3 separate regions of the Homo sapiens genome follow, and regions 2 and 3 are each linked to region 1. Evidence: promoter capture Hi-C in human tissues and cell types (Jung and others, 2019). All regions are on one chromosome and are shown on one strand. Each heading gives the region's core, a stretch centred on a gene start or on the middle of the fragment in contact. The rest is flanking DNA. Distances are from core to core; before and after follow the strand shown. Region 1 holds the start of SPRY1 (sprouty RTK signaling antagonist 1). Region 2 overlaps AFG2A (AAA ATPase AFG2A). Region 3 overlaps AFG2A (AAA ATPase AFG2A).

Evidence for each region. Contacts are between HindIII fragments. The study calls those that stand out against the background at their distance.
Region 2: a contact is called between a fragment that was not itself captured here and the fragment with the promoter of SPRY1 in region 1, in 2 of the 25 tissues and cell types used here (dorsolateral prefrontal cortex and spleen).
Region 3: a contact is called between a fragment that was not itself captured here and the fragment with the promoter of SPRY1 in region 1, in 1 of the 25 tissues and cell types used here (dorsolateral prefrontal cortex).

Annotation. Positions count from the first base shown.
Region 1 is chr4:123,394,805-123,398,092 of GRCh38, forward strand. SPRY1 (sprouty RTK signaling antagonist 1) reads left to right here and starts at 1,991. Exons shown (of 3, transcript NM_001258038.2): 1 at 1,991-2,128; 2 at 2,807-3,052. The HindIII fragment of the contact is 12,155 bases long and covers 1-3,288 here.
Region 2 is chr4:123,235,487-123,239,011 of GRCh38, forward strand. The region is part of intron 14 of AFG2A (AAA ATPase AFG2A); the gene reads left to right. Among named protein-coding and RNA genes, the nearest start is that of SPRY1, 160 kb to the right of the region's middle. The HindIII fragment of the contact is 3,538 bases long and covers 1-3,377 here.
Region 3 is chr4:123,142,588-123,145,631 of GRCh38, forward strand. The region is part of intron 14 of AFG2A (AAA ATPase AFG2A); the gene reads left to right. Among named protein-coding and RNA genes, the nearest start is that of AFG2A, 220 kb to the left of the region's middle. The HindIII fragment of the contact is 5,799 bases long and covers 1-3,044 here.

The DNA of each region.
Region 1 (3,288 bases), core at 741-3,240:
TGAAAAACAATGTATACTTTAAGCTAAAAATTTAGAATTTCTACAAAGTCTTATAGTTGCGGGGAATCAGGAGAGGCAAGTTTCATTCAATGTCTTTTAGAACCAAGGTGACAGAGCTATACGTACATTTATTTGTAATGTAATATTTAGAGAAAAACATATTAATGCATTTTAGTGCTAAATGACATGGAGGGTTATTGATCAACTCTGTACAGCATATTTAATTTCTTAATACAACATGACCCATGGTGATGGTGTTTTAGATAAAAATCTCATGGATTTGATTATTATAATTTAAAAATACTTGATCTAATGAAAATTATTTTAATACATTTCTGGTTGAAATAGAGTGTATTTGCAATAGAAATCTTTCAAATATATTTTGTAGGATTTATGAAGGTAGAATGTTCAGTGCTCCCTCTCCAGGTTTTATCATATTGGTGAACTGACCTCTCAGCTCACAACTGTGGTAATAGTTTTGAAGAACCAAATAAGATACTCTGATAGGATAGTCTATTTTTGATTTGTCTATTCCAAATACATTCACAAGAAACCTATCCATCACTAGTAAAATTTCATTACATCCCCAAATCTAATGAGATCTATGAAAAAAATACAATGAAATCAATTTTATTCTTTTAAATAGCCTATTTTAATACAATTCATAATATTAAGAGTGAATATGTAGCTTTTTGGCTTGATTCTTATTCTATGCTATTTTCTAATGATGCTTTTTTATTGTTATTCATGTTCTTAACAATGCTCTGTGTTCTTCAGAGGCAATTCCAAACACAACTTTAATTTTTGAAAGTGCTCAGACATTTGAAAGTCCTGTGTGTGTGCGTGTGTGTTATGTATGTATATATTTATAGTTTCAACAGAACCACTTGCTATTGTAAATGAGACTAAAAATGTACTTTGAACTAAAAATTTCCATACTTATATGTTTATATGATTTAGATTCTAGAGTTTTGTTATTGTTTGCTTTGTTTTGCCAGACTTTAAGCTACTCCTGATATATAGTACCTGGAAAAATATTTCCTTTCCACTAAGTTTTTGGTCTTTAGGTGGCTTTTAAAAGTTTCTACGGAACCTTCAATTCCACAAAAAGTTATCCTCACTGCAGCATGAAAAGGCACAACTTTGATAATAAATGCCTAAAATCCCATAGTTTGTAAGAAAGTAGAAATCAAGTTTCCTACTTAAAGTGTTTTTTTTCCAGTCATATCAGCTATTACTAAGAATTATAAAACTTCTTGATAAATTTTTTCTATTCTAATTAATTGACTTTTAGCTAATTAAAAAATATACGGGTTTGTATTTTTTGCAAAATTATACAACTATATTACAAAATTGAAAGAATTTGGTTTTTTCTCCATGTGCTTGATTTTTGGGAAATCATATAACAAGCCAAGGTAAAGCAATTATTTAAAAAACCCACAGCAGAAAATTTCACCTTTATTACATATGCTTATATTACATTTGCAGTAAGGAGTGCCACCTTTTGAACTTTAGGTTTCACATATTCTGAACTTTGTTGTAAATAGGAACTGTAATGTTATATAATCATCTTTTTGTGTCAATATACGTTTTCCCTCTAGTTGGTCAGAAGTGATGGCTTGGCATACAACTTTTTTCATTTTCTTTTATTCTTCACAATTCTTTTCTAATTCAACTTAAGAGTAGAGTCCACCAATCCTTTTAATTGAGATCGACAACTGAAGATTGCTAACTAAATCCGAATGTATTCCTCTATGACAAACTGCATTTGCAGAATTTTTAGAGGCACTCCCGAAGTTTTAAGAGGATGTTTATTACACGAGTCTGTAGGGCAACATTTCCAAGTTGGTACACATAAACGAAAGAGGAAACGATAGTTAAGGAAATCCTGTTCCAGGTTTTCGGGCAGCCCGAGTGATTGACACATGATATCACCGGAGGCGTGTCCTGGAGTGGAGGTGGAGGTGGAGGCAAGGAGCTGAAATTCTGCGTAGCCGGAGTGAGACCGCTCTGCAAACCACTGCGTGCTTTGCAGAGTGATTATCAGCACAGTTCCCTGCCCTGGATAAGGAACAGCTACAGTCGCTGTTAAATGTGCCTGAAAAGCAATTTGCAATCTTTGCATTAGGTAAGTACCGTTTCCTTCCGTAGACATTTTAGGAAAGATAAGGTGAGAAATGTTGACTTTTGCAAGGAACTGAACATTTATTTATTTGAACTTGCTTTCCAGCTAAGGTTACTGGTTGCATTTCAAAACACCGGTAGCATTCCCACTGCTAAAACTAATGCTCTTAAAGTAAATGCTACCGCTAAAAGAAAAAGCAGGGTCCCTTTCACCTTTCCTTAACCGAACAGTAGACGTTTAAAGTCTGAAACGATCGAATTTGTGAAACACAGAGCCGTTAATGCCTTTATGCGAAGAGGGGCTAGCACTCGGTGTGTGGACCAAATGCGTGTTTGTTTAGGCATTGTTGGCGACCGAATCCCGAGTGAAGCATTGGTTTAAAACCTGAATTTCCCGTCTCTGTGTATTGATTCCTAACGCGCAGAGGCGTTGCTTGAACGTTGTTTGAACTCCTAGGCATTCCAGGGGGCAAAAGCACCTCGGCAAAAACGTGCAGGACTGCATGTTACTTTGGTTCGCGGCTGACACGCCGACTGTGCGCCGGCCTGTCAATCACCGGGAGCAGCAACAGGGAGCACATGGCAACGGGCTGCGGGCGAGCTGGCCAGCGGCCCGCCCGGGGTCCCAGCCCTTCGAAGAAAGGGACATTCACGAGCTTCTATCTCTAATTCTCTGTCGCAGGCATTTCGGCCGTGGAACCCCAGGCTCGGAGGACTGGGTGTGAGCGCTGCCCGGGAGAGGCTGACCTGCCGGGACCGGAGTGCCCGGGGACGCTGTGCCCCCACTTGCCCAACGTGCGGAATCGGCTAAGCGCGTCGGCCTGCGCGGGGCACAAGGGACGACGCCCGCCTTTCTCTCTCCGAGAAGGATCCCCAAACCTCACTCTCTTCACTCCTCCCCGCTAAAAAAAAAAAAAAAAAGAAAAGGGTAAAAAAATCCCCCTCCCCCTCCCGGCCGCGGCAGCCTCTGCCTGGCAGGCGCGTGCTCCGAGGTTTCGCCGGGGTACTGCGCGGCTCCGTGACCCACCCGCCGACGGCGGTTCGGGCCCCGACCCGGGCGCTGCGGAGTCTCGAACGCCCGTGACGTGGATTTTTCGCTCGTCAGGAAGCCGCCATCCCTTCCTTCGTTCCTTGCGAGGAGCGACTAGAACCCGAGTTCTCTGA
Region 2 (3,525 bases), core at 359-2,858, 160 kb before region 1:
ATGGAGATGAACATGTATTGAAGAAGCAAATCAAACTTTCATGACTCCAGAGAGTCTGGAAAGACCACAACGAGTAGTCCTTTGCTAAAGATAGAATAAGTGTAGTATGGAATCCAAGTTATTCTGACTATGTCAACTACTTGGTGTGACTGAATAATCAAATACCTGAGAGATGTCAAATAAATCATTCCTTTTCAGTACTCATATTTGGACTTCACCATGGAAGAAAATACTGCTGTTCTCAGTGCCCAGGGACTACAAAACCACATTCCCACAGAATAACCAAATTCCTTTTCTGCTTATGTTTAACAGCAGTGCAACTGGGCTTTTCTAATAGATTTTAAACTTTTTGTTATAAATATTGTTACCTCCACGGAAGTGAGGAAATTATATTTTTTAACTATTCTGCTTAGAAAATACCACAAATAAAGGAAAATCAATAAATTTCTTTCTTAAGTGGATACATTTTAAAGCAGAGTTACCAGTATTTGAAAATAACTCAAAATGAACTTCTTTCTCTCTAAGAAGTTCTCATAATGGGTTGATATGACCCATGTGTTAGTACATAGATACCTAGGAGTAAATGCCCCCACCTCCTTTGGGTAATGTATTTTTGGGGGGAATCTGATAGATACACTCTCCTGAAAATACAAATACAAAATTTTTACACGTAAAATTTAGCCTACAGTTTCAAGGCTTCATAGATACTGTTTTCCCTAAACGCATTCAAGAACCTTTAGGTAACTGAGATCTTCTGGATGTGAAAGGGATGTAGCTACATATACATTCCAACCCATAAGCCACTGTGTCATCATTGCAGTTTATGATAAGCTTTCTGTAAACCCTTCATTTTCTAGGTTTGGCTTCAAAAGTCATTGGTGCAATTCTTAATTACATAGTTACGTCTTGTTTTTTAACGCTTGAAATAGTGTTAAAATGATGGCATCTGCATTATCTCTTTGCTGTGTGATATTTGCTTATTATGTTTTAATTATTTAAATTTTTATGAGGCCACCATGTAAGTTATAATCTGAATCTTCCCAAAGATATATTGTCTTACATTCTGCCACAGAATTAAAATGACAAAAATAGTGCATCTCATAGCAAAGACATAGAGTTCCACTTTACAGATGAGAAAGCTAAGGCTTAAGAGCACTTAGAGTGATTTGATTCATTTATGAGGTAAGGGACTGTCCACGTTCACCTATGAGGCTTTTTTAAACTAACTTGTACAAGCCATATCTCTCAAAGTCTAGTCTAGGAACTTTCTCTGTCAGAGTCAGCTGGCAAGCTTATTAAACATGCAGGGTCTGACCTCTCCCTCCAGACCAAATGGGATGTAAATGGGGAACAAGATTCTTCTAGATGAGCAGATAAGCCAGATGATTCCTGTGCACATTGAGGTTTGAGAAACCCTGAAAATTGGTTTAACTTTAACTGCACATTAGAATCGAAGAAAATAATTTGCCTGGACCTAGACTGATTGATTGTCACTGGAGCAAGGAGGTGGAGGTAACCTAGGTTCTTAAAGTTCACCAAGTGATTGTGATGCACAGTGAAGGTTAAAAACCACTACTCTAAAGTATTTAGAAAGTTTTCCTGTAAAAGGCCAGATGGTAAATATTTTAGACTTTATAGGCTACATCTGTTATTCCTTGTAGCTACTCAACTTTGCTGACTTAGAATGGAAATAGCCATAGATAATATGCAAATGGCTGAACAGGGCCATGTTCTAACACTTCATTTATAAAAACAGCTGGTGGGACAGATTGTAGTTTGCCAAACCCTACAGAGGGGGGTACAGTCCCTGCCATGTGCCTCAAAGGTGCTGTTAGACTGTGTTCTAAACCTGAGATGTTTCTAGTTGTTTGAAGTAAAGGTGGAAAACTACCATATTAAAATTCAATTACGGGCTGGGCATGATGGCTATAATCCCAGCACTTTGGGAGGAGATCATAGTGACGCCACTTGAGGCCAGGAGTTCAAGACCAGCCTGGCCAACATGGTGAAACTGTGTCTCTACTAAAAGTACAAAAATTAGCCAGGTGTGGTGGTGCCTGCCTGTAATCACAACTACTTGGGAGGTTGAGGCATGAGAATCGCTTGAACCTAGGAGGTGGAGGTTGCAGTGAGCTGAGATCATGCCACTGCACTCCAGCCTGGGCGACAGAGTGAAACCTTGTCTCAAAAAAAAAAAAAAAAAAAAAAAAAGGAGTTCCATTCCAAGAGGGCCAAATAGGAACAGCTCTGGTCTGCAGCTCCCAGCATGATCGACACAGAAGTTGGGTGATTTCTGCGTTTCCAACTGGGGTGACTAGTTCATCTCATTGGGACTGGTTGGACAGTGGGTGCAGCCCACGGAGAGTGAACTGAAATAGGGTGGGGCATTGCCTCACCCAGGAACTGGAAGGGGTTGTGGGATTTCCCTCTCCTAGCCAAGGGAAGCCATGACAGACAGTACCTGGAATATCGCTACACTCCTGCCCAAATACTGCGCTTTTCCCATGGTCTTAACAACTGGCAGACAAGGAGATTCTCTCCCGTGCCTGGCTTGGCAGATCCAACACCCACGGAGCCTTGCTTGCTGCTAGTGCAGCAGTTTGAGATCGACCTGCGAGGCTGCAGCCTGGCAGGGGGAGGGGCATCCGCCATTGCTGAAGCTTAAGTAGGTAAACAAAGTGGCCAGGAAGCTCAAACTGGGTGGAGCCCACTGCAGCTCAGGAAGGCCTACTGCCTCCATGAACTGTACCTCTGTAGACAGGGCATAGCTGAACAAAAGGCAGCAGTAACTTCTGCAGACTTAAACGTCCCTGTGTGACAGCTCTGAAGACAGCAGTGGTTCTCCCAGCACGGCATTTGAGCTCTGAGAACGGACAGACTGCCTCCTCAAGTGGGTCCCTGACCCCCATGTAGCCTAACTGGGAGACATCTCCCAGTAGGGGCTGACAGACACCTCATACAGGCGGGTTTCCCTCTGCGATGAAGTTTCCAGAGGAAGGATCAGGCAGTAATATTTGCTGCTCGGCAGCCTCCGCTGGTGATACCCAGGCAAACAGGGTCTGGAGTGGACCTCCAGCAAACTCCAACAGACCTGTTGCTTAGGGACCTGACTGTTAGAAGAAAAACTAACAAACCAAAAGGAATAGCATCAACATCAACAGAAAGGACTTCCACACAAAAACCCCATCTGTAGGTCACCAACATCAAAGACCAAAGGTAGATAAAACCACAAAGATGGGGAGAAACCAGAACAGAAAAGCTGAAAATTCTAAAAACCAGAGCGCCTCTTCTCCTCCAAAGGATCACAGCTCCTTGCCAGCAACAGAACAAAGCTGGATGGAGAATGACTTTGACGAGCTGACAGAAGTGGGATTCAGAAGGTCAATAATAACAAACTTCTCCAAGCTAAAGAAGCGTGTTCTAACCCATTGCGAGGAAGCTAAAAACCTTGAAAAAAGGTGAGACAAATGGCTAACTAGAATAAACAGTGTAGAGAAGACCTTAAATGACCTGATGGAGCTGAAA
Region 3 (3,044 bases), core at 529-3,028, 250 kb before region 1:
GAGATACGTTAACTTTGGTAATCTGTCATAGACTTCACTTCATTCTGTGGCCTTTAATTTAAGAGAATGGTAGTTCTTTAGATGCTCTCTCAGGGTTAATCTCCCAACAGCTGGAAAACCAAGAATGGCTGTGAAAAGTACTTCTTTACCTAATACAGGATTGCATAACTACTTGCTTTTCCCTTAAAAATAATCTGCAGTATACATGGATCTTAAAATAGGAATGATAACTCTTTTGTAGAAATATTAGGGGATCAGAAGAGATAATTTATACGAATCATTTGGCTTACAATTTGTTGTAAAGTGAGGCCTTGAGACGCAATAGCTATTACAGGGTGAGCATTCTAAGTTGGAAAATTCAAGACCTGAAATGCTCCAAAATTTGAAACTTTTGAGTTCTAACATAATGCTTGAAGGAAATGCTCATTGGAGCATTTAGGATTTTGGATTTTAAGGTTTGGGATGCTCAACCCTAAACCAGTAAGTATGTATAATGCAAATATTACAAAATCCAAAAAAAATCTGAAATCTGAAACACTCTGGTCCCAAGCAATTCAGATAAGGGGTATTCACCCTGTATTATTAGTTTTTCCAGAAAAAAAAAAGAAAGATTATCAAAGATACACACCCGACTTTAGCACTAAAATTTTTAAGTTGTTGTACCTTCAATTGCTTTATTTTTCCCTTTCAATTCTAATGTTAAAAAATGTAATCCTGTTTTACAAAATATTTCAGCAAGTTTTCAGCAGTCGTCGCTATTACATTAACTATAAATAATCTTTTGGGAGACCTATCAACATCTACTTTCTCTTTCACAATTTGATAATTAACGTATATCACATCTGTGCCTTTCTTTCTAGGGATTTCCAAGATCTGATGGAATTTGCAATGGTTGATGTATATATGGCTCTTATCCATTGTCAGTAACCCACCTTCTTATGAGCTTTTCCAATTTTCGGGCAAATAACTAAGTACAGTATTTGTGCTGATATAGGTACAAGAGTTTAAAGAAGGCATGACTTAAGTGTTACTAAGAGGAAATAAGGAGAAATTATGTTAATAAATTGGCATTATATACTAATAAAGTTAGTCTCCAATCTGTGGAAACATGAAGAATAGAATGTAATGCTTTGCATTTCTCGGTGGATGAATGATTTTAAAATTTCATACATGGGGGAGAAAATAAAAATACTCCTGAACCCAAAGCTTGACTTCATTCAGGGATATGCATAAACTTCTCTCTCTTTTTTTTTTTTTTTTCCTTTAACCTGAAAGGACATTTAGAAAGCTAAATCTATTTTTCCTTCTTTTCAGTCAGAAAGTCAGGCCTCACCAGCAACAGACTACTGGTGTTTTGTAAGGGCTATATAATGTTTTCATCGTAATGCTATATAATGTTTTCATCTTTGTATTCGTTAGCCCAGACTTTTTGTTTAGTACTAGGAAGTATTTCCACAGATGTTGAGTGAGTGGATAAATGAATTAACTTGTGTGGTATACCTGGGGAAAAGGCAGTAAATGGGTAGAAAAACTCAAGAATAATCTACACCTATGGGGTTGACAACTTTTCCAGTTGCTCTAGGAATTACTGTAATCATTTTCTTTCTGTTATACTGCCTTATAGATCTGATGGAAATTTTGAAAAGAGCGTGTTCTCATTGTTTAGCTCTATATATCTGTTGGCTTCATTTGCTTTTAATATTTTTTTCTAATAGATACCTTTCTGGCTTGCACAGCAAAGTTCAATTAATGTAAGGATAAAATGTAAATTATCTAATTCAGCTTATTTACATGCTGTAAGTAATATAGTAATGCTAACTGGGCTTTCCTTGGCTTTTGTTTCATTGTGATCTGAGCTCAGATTATAGTTTGATCTGCTATGCACTGACCTGGGTGCCAGATGCAAGGGAAGCCAGTAAATAATACTATAAAGAGAGATGCTAGCTTTAGTTTTGAAAGGACGATGACTTGTAAGTGAGACTGTTGTAAACCACACAGTAATTAAAAAGCTCCATAATTAAAAGGGATATTTCCTTTCTTTAACCTGTCTTAAATGTTAGATATGATTAAAAGCAAAAGCATTTCTCTCAATAAAGTTGGGGGAAAAGTACTTGTTTTTATAGTCAGTTTTTGAAACATAGGAAAAGTGACCTCAAAGAACCTGTGTTGTAAAATTTTCAGAGTCATAGGAACTTGAACTTTGTTTCTTGATTACTTGATGAAATTGGTCATACTAGTTTATGAATAGTTCTGAATGGCCTTGTAGTCTTCTGTTGGTTTTGGTTTCATCTTTCAGTAGATGGACCTGTGGAAAAGTGGAACTGGCTTTGAAAATGTACTGGAAGCAATTATTTTCCTAAGACAATAATTTTTTTTCTCTTTTCCATTTTCTTTAGAACATACAGGCTAGAAGATCCACTCAGCATTTAATGCATATGACTTTACATTGCTGTTTATCTTTTTGTTTATCCCGAAATTGGAAGCTTCTAAAAGGCAGAGATTCACTCTCTTCCTGTGGTGGTTCTAGAGGCTGTGCCTTGCATAGAGTTAATTTTTAAAAAATAATTAATAATTATTTTTCTTACCATTTCTATTACTCATTTTTCAATTTGGAGAATAATTTTACCTGGCCACACTGATGGAACTTGCATACATGGGCCAGCTCTTTTACTCAGTTGCCCAATTTTTGAATGAAACTGAAAACTGTGGACAGATACATCAGGGAAGAGGAACATACAGAGTAAAAGACATAAAAGCCTTAAAGTTGGCTTCAGTTTCTTCATTTCATCTTGTAAATTACACAGGAGTCCTTCAGATAAAACTCACTGGTTATATGACAAATTAAGCAATTAGATTACTGCACACCTAATAATAGTAGCAAATAATGCACTTTCAATCTGCTAATATGTTAAGCACTTTTCATTATCTCTTCCTTTTACATGAGGGGAATCTGAAGTTTAGGGAATTTAAAACTTCCACAAAGTTAGTAGTCAGTAGTTTATATACTAGTATTAAATCTGTTTAAATCCAAAGCCGGTGACATT